Regions from separate parts of the Homo sapiens genome. Here all the other regions are linked to region 2. Evidence: promoter capture Hi-C in 16 types of primary human blood cells and fetal thymus (Javierre and others, 2016). All regions are on one chromosome and are shown on one strand. Each heading gives the region's core, a stretch centred on a gene start or on the middle of the fragment in contact. The rest is flanking DNA. Distances are from core to core; before and after follow the strand shown. Region 1 overlaps SLC45A2 (solute carrier family 45 member 2). Region 2 holds the start of TARS1-DT (TARS1 divergent transcript). Region 3 overlaps SLC45A2 (solute carrier family 45 member 2). Region 4 holds the start of NPR3 (natriuretic peptide receptor 3).

Region 1 (2,793 bases), core at 234-2,733, 520 kb after region 2:
CAATCAGAGCAATGGCTACCGAGAGGTAGAATTGGTCCAGTCAAAGCAAAAGCAGACAGGTCAAGAGAAAAGACCATGACAACAGTTTTTTTGGGGATGCTCAGGCATTTTGCTTGTTGACTTTCTGGAAGGCCAAAGATTGATAATATCTACTTACTATGAGAGTGTTTTGAGAAAGTTAGCCAAAGCTTTAGCAGAAAAACACACAAAAGCTTCACCAGGAAGTCTTTGTCCACCATAACAATGCTTCTGCTCATTCCTATCATCAAACAAGGGCAATGTTGTGATAATTTTGATGGAATATCTTTAGGCATCAATCCCAGAGTCCTGATTTAGCTCCTTCTGACTTCTGTTTCCTAATCTTAAAAAATCTATAAAGGGCACCCATGGTTTTTCAGTTAATATTGTAAAAAAGGCTGCATTGACATAGCTAAATCTCCAGGACCCCCAGTTCTTTAGGGATGGGCTAAACGGCTGGTATCATTGCTTACAAAAGTAAGCAATGAACTCAATGGAGCTTACATTAAGAAATAAAGTTTATTCTTTTTAATTTTTATCTTTTAATTCTATTTTTCCATTAACTTTAGGAAGGCCCATCCCACACACATATATGTAAAAAATGAATATATAGGCCCCGATTCCTTAATTTAGATTTAAATTAGGTTAAAACTAGAAGCTATAGTTTTTCTGGTTTCAGAAACATTGAGAGAATGAGAAACTTTAAACTATTGATACAACTGTTTTGAAATACAAAAAATGATAATAGCTTTTAGCATCTTGTCATATAAGAGAAGAAAGAAACCTTGGGAATATTAATTGATTAGCTTCCCTGAAGACACTGAGACCATAAACATCAGACACAATTTGGTAATTGGTCTTTCTTGTCATATTTTTATTTATTCTGAATCACGACATTGAGTACTGGCTAGTTTATAAGACAGTCTACTGAGATTTTCTATTTTAACTGTAACAGCATATTTTTTATACTTCTTAACCTTATATAATCATGCTTTTTTCTTCTTTGCTGTGGAAAATTATATTCGCCCATTTTAATTTTGTTGTGTAAGTTGATTTTTTAAAATTCATCAGTCTTGCAGTATCTAGCCCACTGACCATAACTATACTCATTTTCTGATAATCAGTGTTAAACACTATAGACATCTCCCTGGATTGAAGGAAAATAACTGTTTTTCTGCAAGTTCAATATGGTACCTGTAAAAATAAATGATTATAACCAAAATGAAGTGCAGAATTACTACTTTTTCCTCAACCACAGAAAGAAGCAGCTAACAATAGCCCAAGAAACAACAGCCTGGTTTTCATGCCTCCAACTAAATGGTTTGTCATCACTTTCCTTCCTCTCCTTCCAAAAATGCAAAACTGAGAAAGCGAATCTGGTCAGCAAGTACTCAGCCTCATTCTAAATATTAATATATGCTTCTGACTTATACATAATTTTCAGCCTGCTTTCATTGTTAGCCTAATTTCTCCTTTCTTCTAAAAATAAATATGAGCTTTCAAAATGTGCATAGTATTTCTGTAAAAGCTGAGAGTGTAAATATTCAAAGCCCCTTTGTATATTTTAACTCAGAATAAAAACCCAGCTGGGATATTATTCCTGACTCATCAATTCCCTTGGTAAAAACCTTTCAATGATTCTGAAACCTTGGGAGTTGTTTTACTGCATTTATTTTGCACCACTGTCAGCTGGAGACTGGGTAGTGATGAATTTACAAGCGAAAAAGGTACAGAGTCATCAGGGAGAAAGAAAACTTCACAAACATACCCTCAAAAGGAGACTATTTAAATGTTAAAGGGAGCAACTGACGACATGGAGGAATTGGAGATAGATTTTATGAGATCTGGTTTAAACTTCTGAAATAATTCAGCCCTCTTGCCATTAAAAAAGAAAAATTTGTTCTTAAATTACACAGCCACCCTTATTTTGGAAAGCAATGTCTTTGGCAAGCAATGACAGCCCTGAAGCCTTGGCCCTGACCCTGGGGAAGTGCAGACTTCCTTTGCTTAACTGGAGACCTCCCAGGGCACACATTTGGAAGAGAAGTGCAAATCCATGGCTTTGAGAGTAAGATGCATTACTCTGTGCTATATTCTTACTTTAACTTTTTGTCTTATTTTATTTGCTTATTTATTTATGTTTTTAGAGGTGGGGTCTCTCTCTGTTGCTTTGACAAGTGTGCAGCGGCATGATCACAGCTCACTGCAGCATCAAACACTTGGGTTCAATGGATCCTCCCACCTTGGCCTCATGAGTTGCTGGGATTACAGGAATGAGCCACTGCACTGGTCTCAATTTGTTTTTTAAACCAAATAACAAGATCATTCAGAGTCTACAACATTTTTCATGTGGCCCCTACTAGAAAGTTCGTTGTATCTGTTGTATTTATTTTTGTACTCGTGTGGGAGTTCCATGACTTTCAAAAGGCTTCCACTCAGTTGATTTCATGTGATCCTCACAGCAGCCTCTGAGTGGATGGGACGACCCCTGTCCTATGCGACTCTTGGAGGGGGAGTCCCAGTCTATCGAAGGGGACATCAAAGAGGTAGATAATCTATCAGGGTGTTATCTATTATCACGTATATACTTTTATTTAGTAAAACCGCACCTTGTTTTGTTCCCCAAATCACCACATTATTTTTTAATTTTCACTTTCACATTATTTGATTACTTTTTCCCTTTTTTTATCTATTATAGAAATTTTGGATGTATTGCAGGATTTAAAAATAGAAAATTAAAGCTTCCTGTGAGCCTATCATCCAGACTTTTCATTT
Region 2 (2,891 bases), core at 362-2,861:
GGTGTACTCTTAGGCCAACTGATCAGAACCATTACTGTGCATATATATATATATAATATATGTATATACATATACGTATGTGTATATGTGTGTGTGTGTGTATATATATATATATATACACATATATAGTAAACTTGCTTAGCTCTAAATACACACATAGTGAAAGAACAAGTTGAACCGGTAAGTTCTACCAAGAACCACATGAAACTACCAGCAGACACTATTGTAAGCGCCAAGGGGACCTTTCTCCTTGGCCCTCTGAGGTTTGGCTGAAAATCACTAACATGAGGAACATTAATAGAAAAAACATACAAATTTACTTAACGTGTATACACAGGAAGAATCACAGCGTGATTACCCACCCCTCAGAGGGCTTCAGAAGCTTGTGGATACAATCCCAGCGACACAGGTTATGATAGGGAGAAGAGGAATTCTGTTGAGGGATTACAAAGGAGAATGAATGTATCAGGAACACATTAATTTGTACAACATCTTGTGAAAGGGTCTGCTCAGGTGTGATTACTACATTCTTGGTCTTACAGGGAGGCAACAAAAACAATTATGTTCCTTGTGATGTGTCTAAACTTTATCCTTTGCTTTGGCAGAGATGGCGTGGGGATTTAGGGGAGTGGGACCTTGAGGCTTCTTCAGTTCAGATGTCAAAACGCCATTATTTGGGGGTATGTTTCTGCGCCTCCAACACTGTTTAACAGGGAGGCTTGTTTCATCCAGTAAGGGAGTCAAGAAATGGTTCCCCGAAGAAAACGATTCTTGAAATCTGACAATAAATGAGGTGTCAAACAGGCAAAAAGTGTGTCGGAATGAGCACGGATGAGGGTAGGGTGGAAAAATCTTGGTACTTAGTCTGTGGGAAGACCTGAGGAAAAAAAGCCACTACAGTTTATAGTTCAGTGTATGGTGGGCGAACGAGATGAAGCCGAAAACTTGGACAATCAGGGATTGTCCAAGAGCAAGGGAAAGCCACCAAAGATTTTTCAGCAGATTGCCGTGATCATATTTGTATTTGAAGACTACAACGATGCTGTATGAAAAATGGATGCACAAAGCCGAATTGGGAAGCTATTGTTCCTGGAAAGTATAACCCTGAAGGCGGAGAGTTGTAGAGAACAGAACTGATGTTTAAAAAGAAAAATCCACAAAACGTGGTGGTGGAGCACGTACCTGAAGTTATGCCTATTGCGCTTCTGATTTCAAATAAGTAATTGTTTTAAATTGCCTACTAACATAAAAAAGCCCAGTCGATTCCAAACACTGGCACCCAGGCGTGAGAATCCATGGTTATTTCCTTGGGTGAGCTTTATTGTATTTTTGCGGGCGCTATGGAAATGCTCCTCCAGGCAGTACAGATCAGCAGCGGCTCGTAGTGAAGAACGTTCAAGGAAGAGTTTGTCCCGGATCAACAGGACATGGGGCTTGGGAAGCCTGGACTGCCATGAGGAAGGTCGATTCACCACTACAGACAGGGAGCCTGAGGCCTGGGTGGTGCCGACAAGTCGGCAGTCACGCCAGGTCAGGAAGCGCCGAAGCCGCGGGAAACCCTGGACTCCATCCCGGGATTTGTCCCCGTGTCGAAGATGGTATCCAGGTCGCCGAAAACTTCCCGGAAGTTTAGACCAAGACCTACTTATTATCTACGGTGTCCGGGAAGGTCCATGATTGTTCCACATAAAGTCAGAAGGGAGGAAAGGCGCACGCGCATTGGGGACTTGACTCTGGAAAGCGTCCAGACCAAGGTCAGCGGAGAGTAGGCATGTAGCTTCTGCAGTTGCTCCTCCTCACCCTCCGCGACCTGATTTCCTAGAAGGGCTCTGTCACCCGAAAAGATTTTCCACTGGCTTAGAGGAGGGAGGGCCCGCCTTCCCCCGTTATCCATTGGCTGCTCGTTCCGCCGCAAGTTGGGGGCGGGGTTAGGGCGCCTTTCGATTGCATCAGCTGGTCCAGCCGAGGCCAAGTCCCGGGCGCTAGCCCACCTCCCACCCGCCTCTTGGCTCCTCTCCTCTAGGCCGTCGCTTTCGGGTTCTCTCATCGCTTCGTCGTTCGCCAATGTTTGAGGAGAAGGCCAGCAGTCCTTCAGGGAAGATGGGAGGCGAGGAGAAGCCGGTGAGCAAACTTGGTGGGACCCAGAGACCAGCCTGGGACTCTAGTGGGTGCAGACGCTACGCTCGCGGCGGGAGCGGGGGGCAGGAAGCAGGAAGCGGCCGGGACCGCGTGGGTCGGAGAAGTGGGGGATGGTGGGACTCCTGGAAAGTCGGAACCCCCTTTGGGAACCATCCATTCATAAATTAGGGTGGGGCCTTGCAGTTCATCTGTGGGTCCATTCTCTTTACAGATGAGGAAACAGACCTTGAGTGAGCGACTTGTTCAGAGCCTCACATCTACAGTAGTTAGACGCGGAGACAGAATCAGAATCTTAGGCTTGAGGCTTCCAAACTTGCGTTTATGGCTTACTGTAAGCGGGAAACACATTGCAGAGCCTTATTTAATCAATCTCCTAAGATCCTGCGGGGGTAAAGAGCTCCATTTTAAGGAAAGGAAAACCGAGTGCCCGAGATCTGACCCAGCTTGTCCAAGTTTGGGTGGTTAAGTATACATTTTGCCCGGCACTGATCTGGGCGGTGCATGTGGGAAGATGAATAGGGCCCAGTTCCCCGACTTTGAGGGCCTCACAGGCTGATGTGTAAGAGACAGGAAAACAGCCCTAGTGCTTTGTGATCAACCTTGTGGTATTACAGAAGAGGAAGTTTAGGAAGGCACTTTAGAATTTAGTTTGGAAGAATGATTTCACCAGGTAAACAGGCAGGACGGGGCTTCCCACGTAAAGGTAGGGAAGGCAGTGAAAAGGGGCACGCAGGTGAATTGTCTTTCGGGTT
Region 3 (2,700 bases), core at 160-2,659, 540 kb after region 2:
AAACAAACAAGAGCTATGGACCCGTAGCAATTGTCTTGCATCCAGGAGGCAATACATCCTTAAAGCTGCCAAGGAAACATTAAATTGTTGGCTCTGACATCTAGCAGCTCACTGAAAGCCAGCAGACACGTACTCCCAGACTTTTTGTTACATAAGAAAAATAAACATCTGCCTTGAAGCCACTGTTTTGTGGGCGTTAGTGACTTGCAAACAACCCCTTCCTAATCACTCTATTCCCTAAGCATATACCAAGTGCTGATAGGGAAGGGGCCGAGAACACGGGGAAGGGCTGAAGGAAATCAACCTGGATTTTTGGGTGGCAGTACCAGTCCCCCAAAAAGATCATTAAAGTGCATATAACATTGTCTCTCATTCACACATCCCTTATCCTCTCACTCATTCACACGTATGTTACCTCTGGACAGCCCCCTTCCCTCAAGAAGTTTATGGTGTAATGAGTATGATTAGAAATGTATTCAAATAACTAACATGGAAGGTGGAAAATGGCAAAGGCCAAGAAAGAGACATAAGAAAGTAGCCCTTTAGGGCTGGACTGTTTATCTAAGCTGGGAGGTGGTAAAATGTTTTCCTCAGGGTGTGAGCCAACTTTCCCTTTGCCACCAACTGCCCCTCCCTCCAAGGATGGGGTGGAGGTTGGAGGGGTGAGGGGGGTGGGGGAGATTTTTTTCCCCTCCCTGCAGGACAGGGGTGGAGGGATTTTAGAAGATCTTAAAGGGAGCATTCTGCATGAGAACCTGAGAACAGCTAGATTGGAACACAATACTCCAGTTCCATAACTGCTCTTATGAACACAAAAAGACCTTTTGTGTTTTTCTTGTTTATTTGAAAATTCTAGAATATCTTCATTATGCAAAGAAGGAAAACAAAAGGGATTGGGGAGGAGGGAAGAGAGAGAAAAGCATGTGTGCTCCATCCACATCCCATCCAAGCTTCAGGAGCTGGACTCAGCGGCAACAAGGGTAAAAGTGAAAGGGCTCAATTATGGGCTCAATTGTGTCCCTGTACTCCCGATTCCTGTGTTGATACTCTAACCCTCAATGGGACTGTATTTGTCGACAAGGCCTTTAAAGAGGTAATTAAGGTTAAATGAGACTGTAAGTGTGGAGCCCTAATTCAAATCCAATAGGACTGGTGTTCATGTAAGAAAAGGAAGAGACAGTGAGGGTGCAGGTGCACAGAAGAAAGGCCACATGAGGACACAGCAAGAAGGCGGCTGTCTGCCAGCCAGGAAGAGAGGCCTCACCAGAAACCAACCCTGACAGCTTCTTGATCTTGGATTTCCATACTCCAGAACTGTGGGAAAATGAATTTCTGTTTACCTAGTCAGTGACATTCTGGCATGGCAGCCCAAACAGACCATAAAGGCCCCAGGAGGAGATGAAAATTCAGGATGTATGTGTGATCAACTGCAGCCTCAATGGTCTCTTCCTGATGGAGTTATCTACCTCACTGGCACCTTCATGTTCATCTACTCAATAAACTTTTGTGCTTTGATTATTTTGTGGATCTAGTCCCCGACCAAGTTAGAAATTAAGTATACCTGCAGTTTCGAAGAGAATGAGGGCCCTTGTTCCTAGAAAATGAGTGAGCATTTCCAAGCAGCTTTGATCTCCACAGGCAGAAAAGGAGAAAGAAACTTTCGATGTGAGCAAAGACCCAGAACCTGAAGAAGGAAGGGCTGGCTCCTTCATTTGTCCCATTGGTATTTATTTTGAACACCTACAATATGCAAGGCAGTGGTAGAGGAGTGAGGGATGCAGGGAATAAAACAGACCTGCCCGCTGCTCCTGGAAACATGATGAAAAATTATTCAGAGCACAGAGAATGTGGAAGGAGTAATGGGAAGTAAAGCTTGGAGAGTAGGATGGGAACAGATTGTGGCAGCTTTGAACCTCTGTCTAGGAAAATATTATTTACCCATGAGGCACATAGGGAGCCACTGAAGCTCATCAAGCAGGAAAGTGTCCTGATCACGGCTGGCTTTTAAAAATATGAATCTGGAAGCTATCAGTTGGCTCAATTGGAGTGGGAAGAAACTGGAGACTGGAGAACAGTTAAAGGATGAGTACTGCAAACCAATAATAAAATTCTAAGGCCTCCAACTGACTGAGTGGACACCCTTCTTGGCCAAGAGGATCCCAAAGAAACCTGAAAACCTAGTTCAGGCCATGATGAGAAGGGAGGTGTTGGACATACCCTGTTATAACCCTTCCCTTTGGAGTTTAGACAGAATTAACCAGCATTAACATTAAAATAGAGATCTTAAGACTGCCATACAAAACACTCTTCATAGCAATAGGATGCCAAATTCCAACCTGACTCTGGTATACCATCACATGACAGATAACAGACCCTGAAGAAAATTAATGCATTTTACCCAAAATATATTTCTTTGATATATCTTGGAATGGCCCTGCAAAGCCATCTTTTGTGGGGGATTTTTTTTCCTGTAGAGAACCTCCTTCCCTTACCAGTTTTTTTTTAGAGAGCCTGACACCTTCTAAGACTCAAAAAGAGACATTTACCATCTATTCTCTCTGAAACTTGCTATCTGGAGGCCTCATCTACATAACAAGAACCTTGGCTTCCACAATCCTCCTTAACTCAAGCATTTCTTTCTGTTGACTTCAACTCTTTAGGCAAAGCTTAACTCTGAATCAATTGCCAATTGAAAAAGTT
Region 4 (2,700 bases), core at 1-2,500, 730 kb before region 2:
GGGGAGGGGGCTGGCGCGGGGCTGAGGAAGGCGGGGTGTAGGTGACGCCCGGGCCAGCCGGGCACACCAGGTCCGCGATGGAGCCATCTGCACTGGGACCTTGGTCCTTGTTCCCTGACCTTGCGCCGAGGGACCAGGAAGGTCAGGTGCTCGCCCCGCGTCGGTGCTTCAGGAGGGAATGTGGCCAGAACGAGAAAGGTGAGAGCAAGCGGCACCTAAGGATTTTTGCACCGAAACCACAATTTCTAGAACCATCCCTTTCCCCCAGTCCTGGTTTTTTTTTTTTTTTGCACGGTGTGTGTGTGTATATGTGTGTGTGTGTGTGTGTGTGTATGTGTGCGTGCGCGCGCGCATTTCTCTACTTTAAAGCACGTTTCCTTTTTTGAAGCCAGGAGCTGGAGAGCGTGGAAAGGGAGAGGCGGTGATCGCACAGGCACGCGGCGTGGTGGGGGCTCTTGCCGGTGCAGACGTGGGCGATTTCAGCTTTAAGGAAAAGGCAGAGGGCCTGCGGGGAGTGGTGGTTAGGGACAGGGGCGCGATGGGTAGTGAAGGGGTGCAGGGAGGAGCCCTGATGTAAGAATGTTAATGAGAGACTCCCCCAGCCCAGCCCCCACATCTCCCCACCCCCACCCACCCCACCCGCTGGAAACACAAGCCCGGCCTCGGCGCGCCATGTGTGGTAACACGCTCAGCCGCTGCCACGCTATTTAAACGCGGGCTATGGATCCAGGAACCGGCGCGAATCAATGAGATCAAATGCGAGGGAGATGCACCGTCAATTACAAACACTTGGACAAGTCTAACTTTTTTTTTCTTCTACAAAAACGCTTTCAAAAGCAACCTTAGCAACGCCCAAATAAGAAGCCACCTCTAAGCAAAATAGTATATGTATAAACGGAGGGCGAATATATACAAGTATATATATATGTATATTACAGACGCACAGGTTTACACCCGGTGAACTTTTTCTTTTTCTTTTTCTTTTTTTTTTAAGAAAAACTAGTGACATTGCAGAGAAGGACGCTTCCTCTCTATCTTTTGGCGCATTAGTGAAGGGGGTATTCTATTTTGTTAAAGCGCCCAAGGGGGCGCAGGGACCTTGGAGAGAAGAGTGGGGAGGAAAGAGGAAGGGTGGGTGGGGGGCAGAGGGCGAGTCGGCGGCGGCGAGGGCAAGCTCTTTCTTGCGGCACGATGCCGTCTCTGCTGGTGCTCACTTTCTCCCCGTGCGTACTACTCGGCTGGGCGTTGCTGGCCGGCGGCACCGGTGGCGGTGGCGTTGGCGGCGGCGGCGGTGGCGCGGGCATAGGCGGCGGACGCCAGGAGAGAGAGGCGCTGCCGCCACAGAAGATCGAGGTGCTGGTGTTACTGCCCCAGGATGACTCGTACTTGTTTTCACTCACCCGGGTGCGGCCGGCCATCGAGTATGCTCTGCGCAGCGTGGAGGGCAACGGGACTGGGAGGCGGCTTCTGCCGCCGGGCACTCGCTTCCAGGTGGCTTACGAGGATTCAGACTGTGGGAACCGTGCGCTCTTCAGCTTGGTGGACCGCGTGGCGGCGGCGCGGGGCGCCAAGCCAGACCTTATCCTGGGGCCAGTGTGCGAGTATGCAGCAGCGCCAGTGGCCCGGCTTGCATCGCACTGGGACCTGCCCATGCTGTCGGCTGGGGCGCTGGCCGCTGGCTTCCAGCACAAGGACTCTGAGTACTCGCACCTCACGCGCGTGGCGCCCGCCTACGCCAAGATGGGCGAGATGATGCTCGCCCTGTTCCGCCACCACCACTGGAGCCGCGCTGCACTGGTCTACAGCGACGACAAGCTGGAGCGGAACTGCTACTTCACCCTCGAGGGGGTCCACGAGGTCTTCCAGGAGGAGGGTTTGCACACGTCCATCTACAGTTTCGACGAGACCAAAGACTTGGATCTGGAAGACATCGTGCGCAATATCCAGGCCAGTGAGAGAGGTGAGCAGGGGCGCGTCCCGGGCCCCGGGCCCTAACCCAACCGCTCTCCGCGGCTCTCCCTGCACACTCGTCCACTCTGCAGACCCCACTCCCCACTGCGGCGCTGAGGTCGGGTGCGCGCGGGCACTCGTTCAGGTATGCGCCGTGTGGCTGCGACAACCTTTGACGACCGCCCATCGCGGTGTACGTAGAGGGTCCCAGGGAGGTGAAGGGGTTGGAGGAGAGGGCGTCTGTAGCTCCTGCGTGCCCAGGTCCAACAGGTGCTGTCAAACACTTCGATGTTTTTTCTTCCCAGTTTCCACTTTGCCAGCGCCGGGCTGGTGATTAGGGGGCGCACTCCCAGTGCCTGGCTCCATCCAGGGTCTGAAGCATCCGAGGCGGAAAGAACTTGTTCCCCAGTCCTTTGCCAGCGTGCGCCCCCACTTAGTGCGGAAGCGTCCGCGGACGCCTCGCAGCGAGGCGTCGCCACTTAGCTCGCCCGCTCTTGGGGTTTCTCTGACTGTTGTTTCCACAGACCCCAGGTTTCTTTTAAAGGCTTGTTGACTCACTCTTCTCATTCCTTTCATTTCCCTTCCAGCCCCTTATAAACGAGCTTCTGTGGTTTCCACCAAAAATGCCCCTGTGTGTCTGAATTCTGGCGACACTCACTTCTCCCAGAGTGTTCTGCAACGCAGTTTCTAATGCGCCCAGAGCTAAGCTTTGCGGGAGTGCCTTTTGAAGAAACGAGCGCTGAACCTTCT

The links. The method cuts DNA at HindIII sites, captures the fragments that hold promoters and counts their contacts. A CHiCAGO score of 5 or more calls a contact.
Region 1: a fragment that was not itself captured here is called in contact with the fragment with the promoter of TARS1-DT in region 2 in 3 of 17 cell types (naive CD4 T cells, total CD4 T cells and endothelial precursors); the score reaches 6.5 in naive CD4 T cells.
Region 3: a fragment that was not itself captured here is called in contact with the fragment with the promoter of TARS1-DT in region 2 in 3 of 17 cell types (fetal thymus, activated CD4 T cells and naive CD4 T cells); the score reaches 6.8 in fetal thymus.
Region 4: a contact is called between a fragment that was not itself captured here and the fragment with the promoter of TARS1-DT in region 2, in 1 of 17 cell types (megakaryocytes). The highest score is 5.7, in megakaryocytes.

Annotation. Positions count from the first base shown.
Region 1 is chr5:33,956,371-33,959,163 of GRCh38, forward strand. The region is part of intron 3 of SLC45A2 (solute carrier family 45 member 2); the gene reads right to left. Among named protein-coding and RNA genes, the nearest start is that of RXFP3, 21 kb to the left of the region's middle. The HindIII fragment of the contact is 2,547 bases long and covers 211-2,757 here.
Region 2 is chr5:33,439,023-33,441,913 of GRCh38, forward strand. TARS1-DT (TARS1 divergent transcript) reads right to left here and starts at 1,612. Exons shown (of 3, transcript XR_001742630.2): 1 at 1,183-1,612. TARS1 (threonyl-tRNA synthetase 1) reads left to right here and starts at 1,943. Exons shown (of 19, transcript NM_152295.5): 1 at 1,943-2,121. The coding sequence starts at 2,065. RefSeq lists enhancers at 1,289-1,876, 1,531-1,840, 1,941-2,130, 2,391-2,450, 2,465-2,891. The HindIII fragment of the contact is 5,282 bases long and covers 381-2,891 here.
Region 3 is chr5:33,975,930-33,978,629 of GRCh38, forward strand. All of the region lies in intron 2 of SLC45A2 (solute carrier family 45 member 2), which reads right to left. Among named protein-coding and RNA genes, the nearest start is that of SLC45A2, 7.4 kb to the right of the region's middle. RefSeq lists an enhancer at 2,067-2,700. The HindIII fragment of the contact is 922 bases long and covers 949-1,870 here.
Region 4 is chr5:32,710,586-32,713,285 of GRCh38, forward strand. It overlaps NPR3 (natriuretic peptide receptor 3), which reads left to right and starts at 736. Exons shown (of 8, transcript NM_001204375.2): 1 at 736-1,960. The coding sequence starts at 1,192. RefSeq lists an enhancer at 1,097-1,822 and a silencer at 1,698-1,992. The HindIII fragment of the contact is 2,810 bases long and covers 1-2,655 here.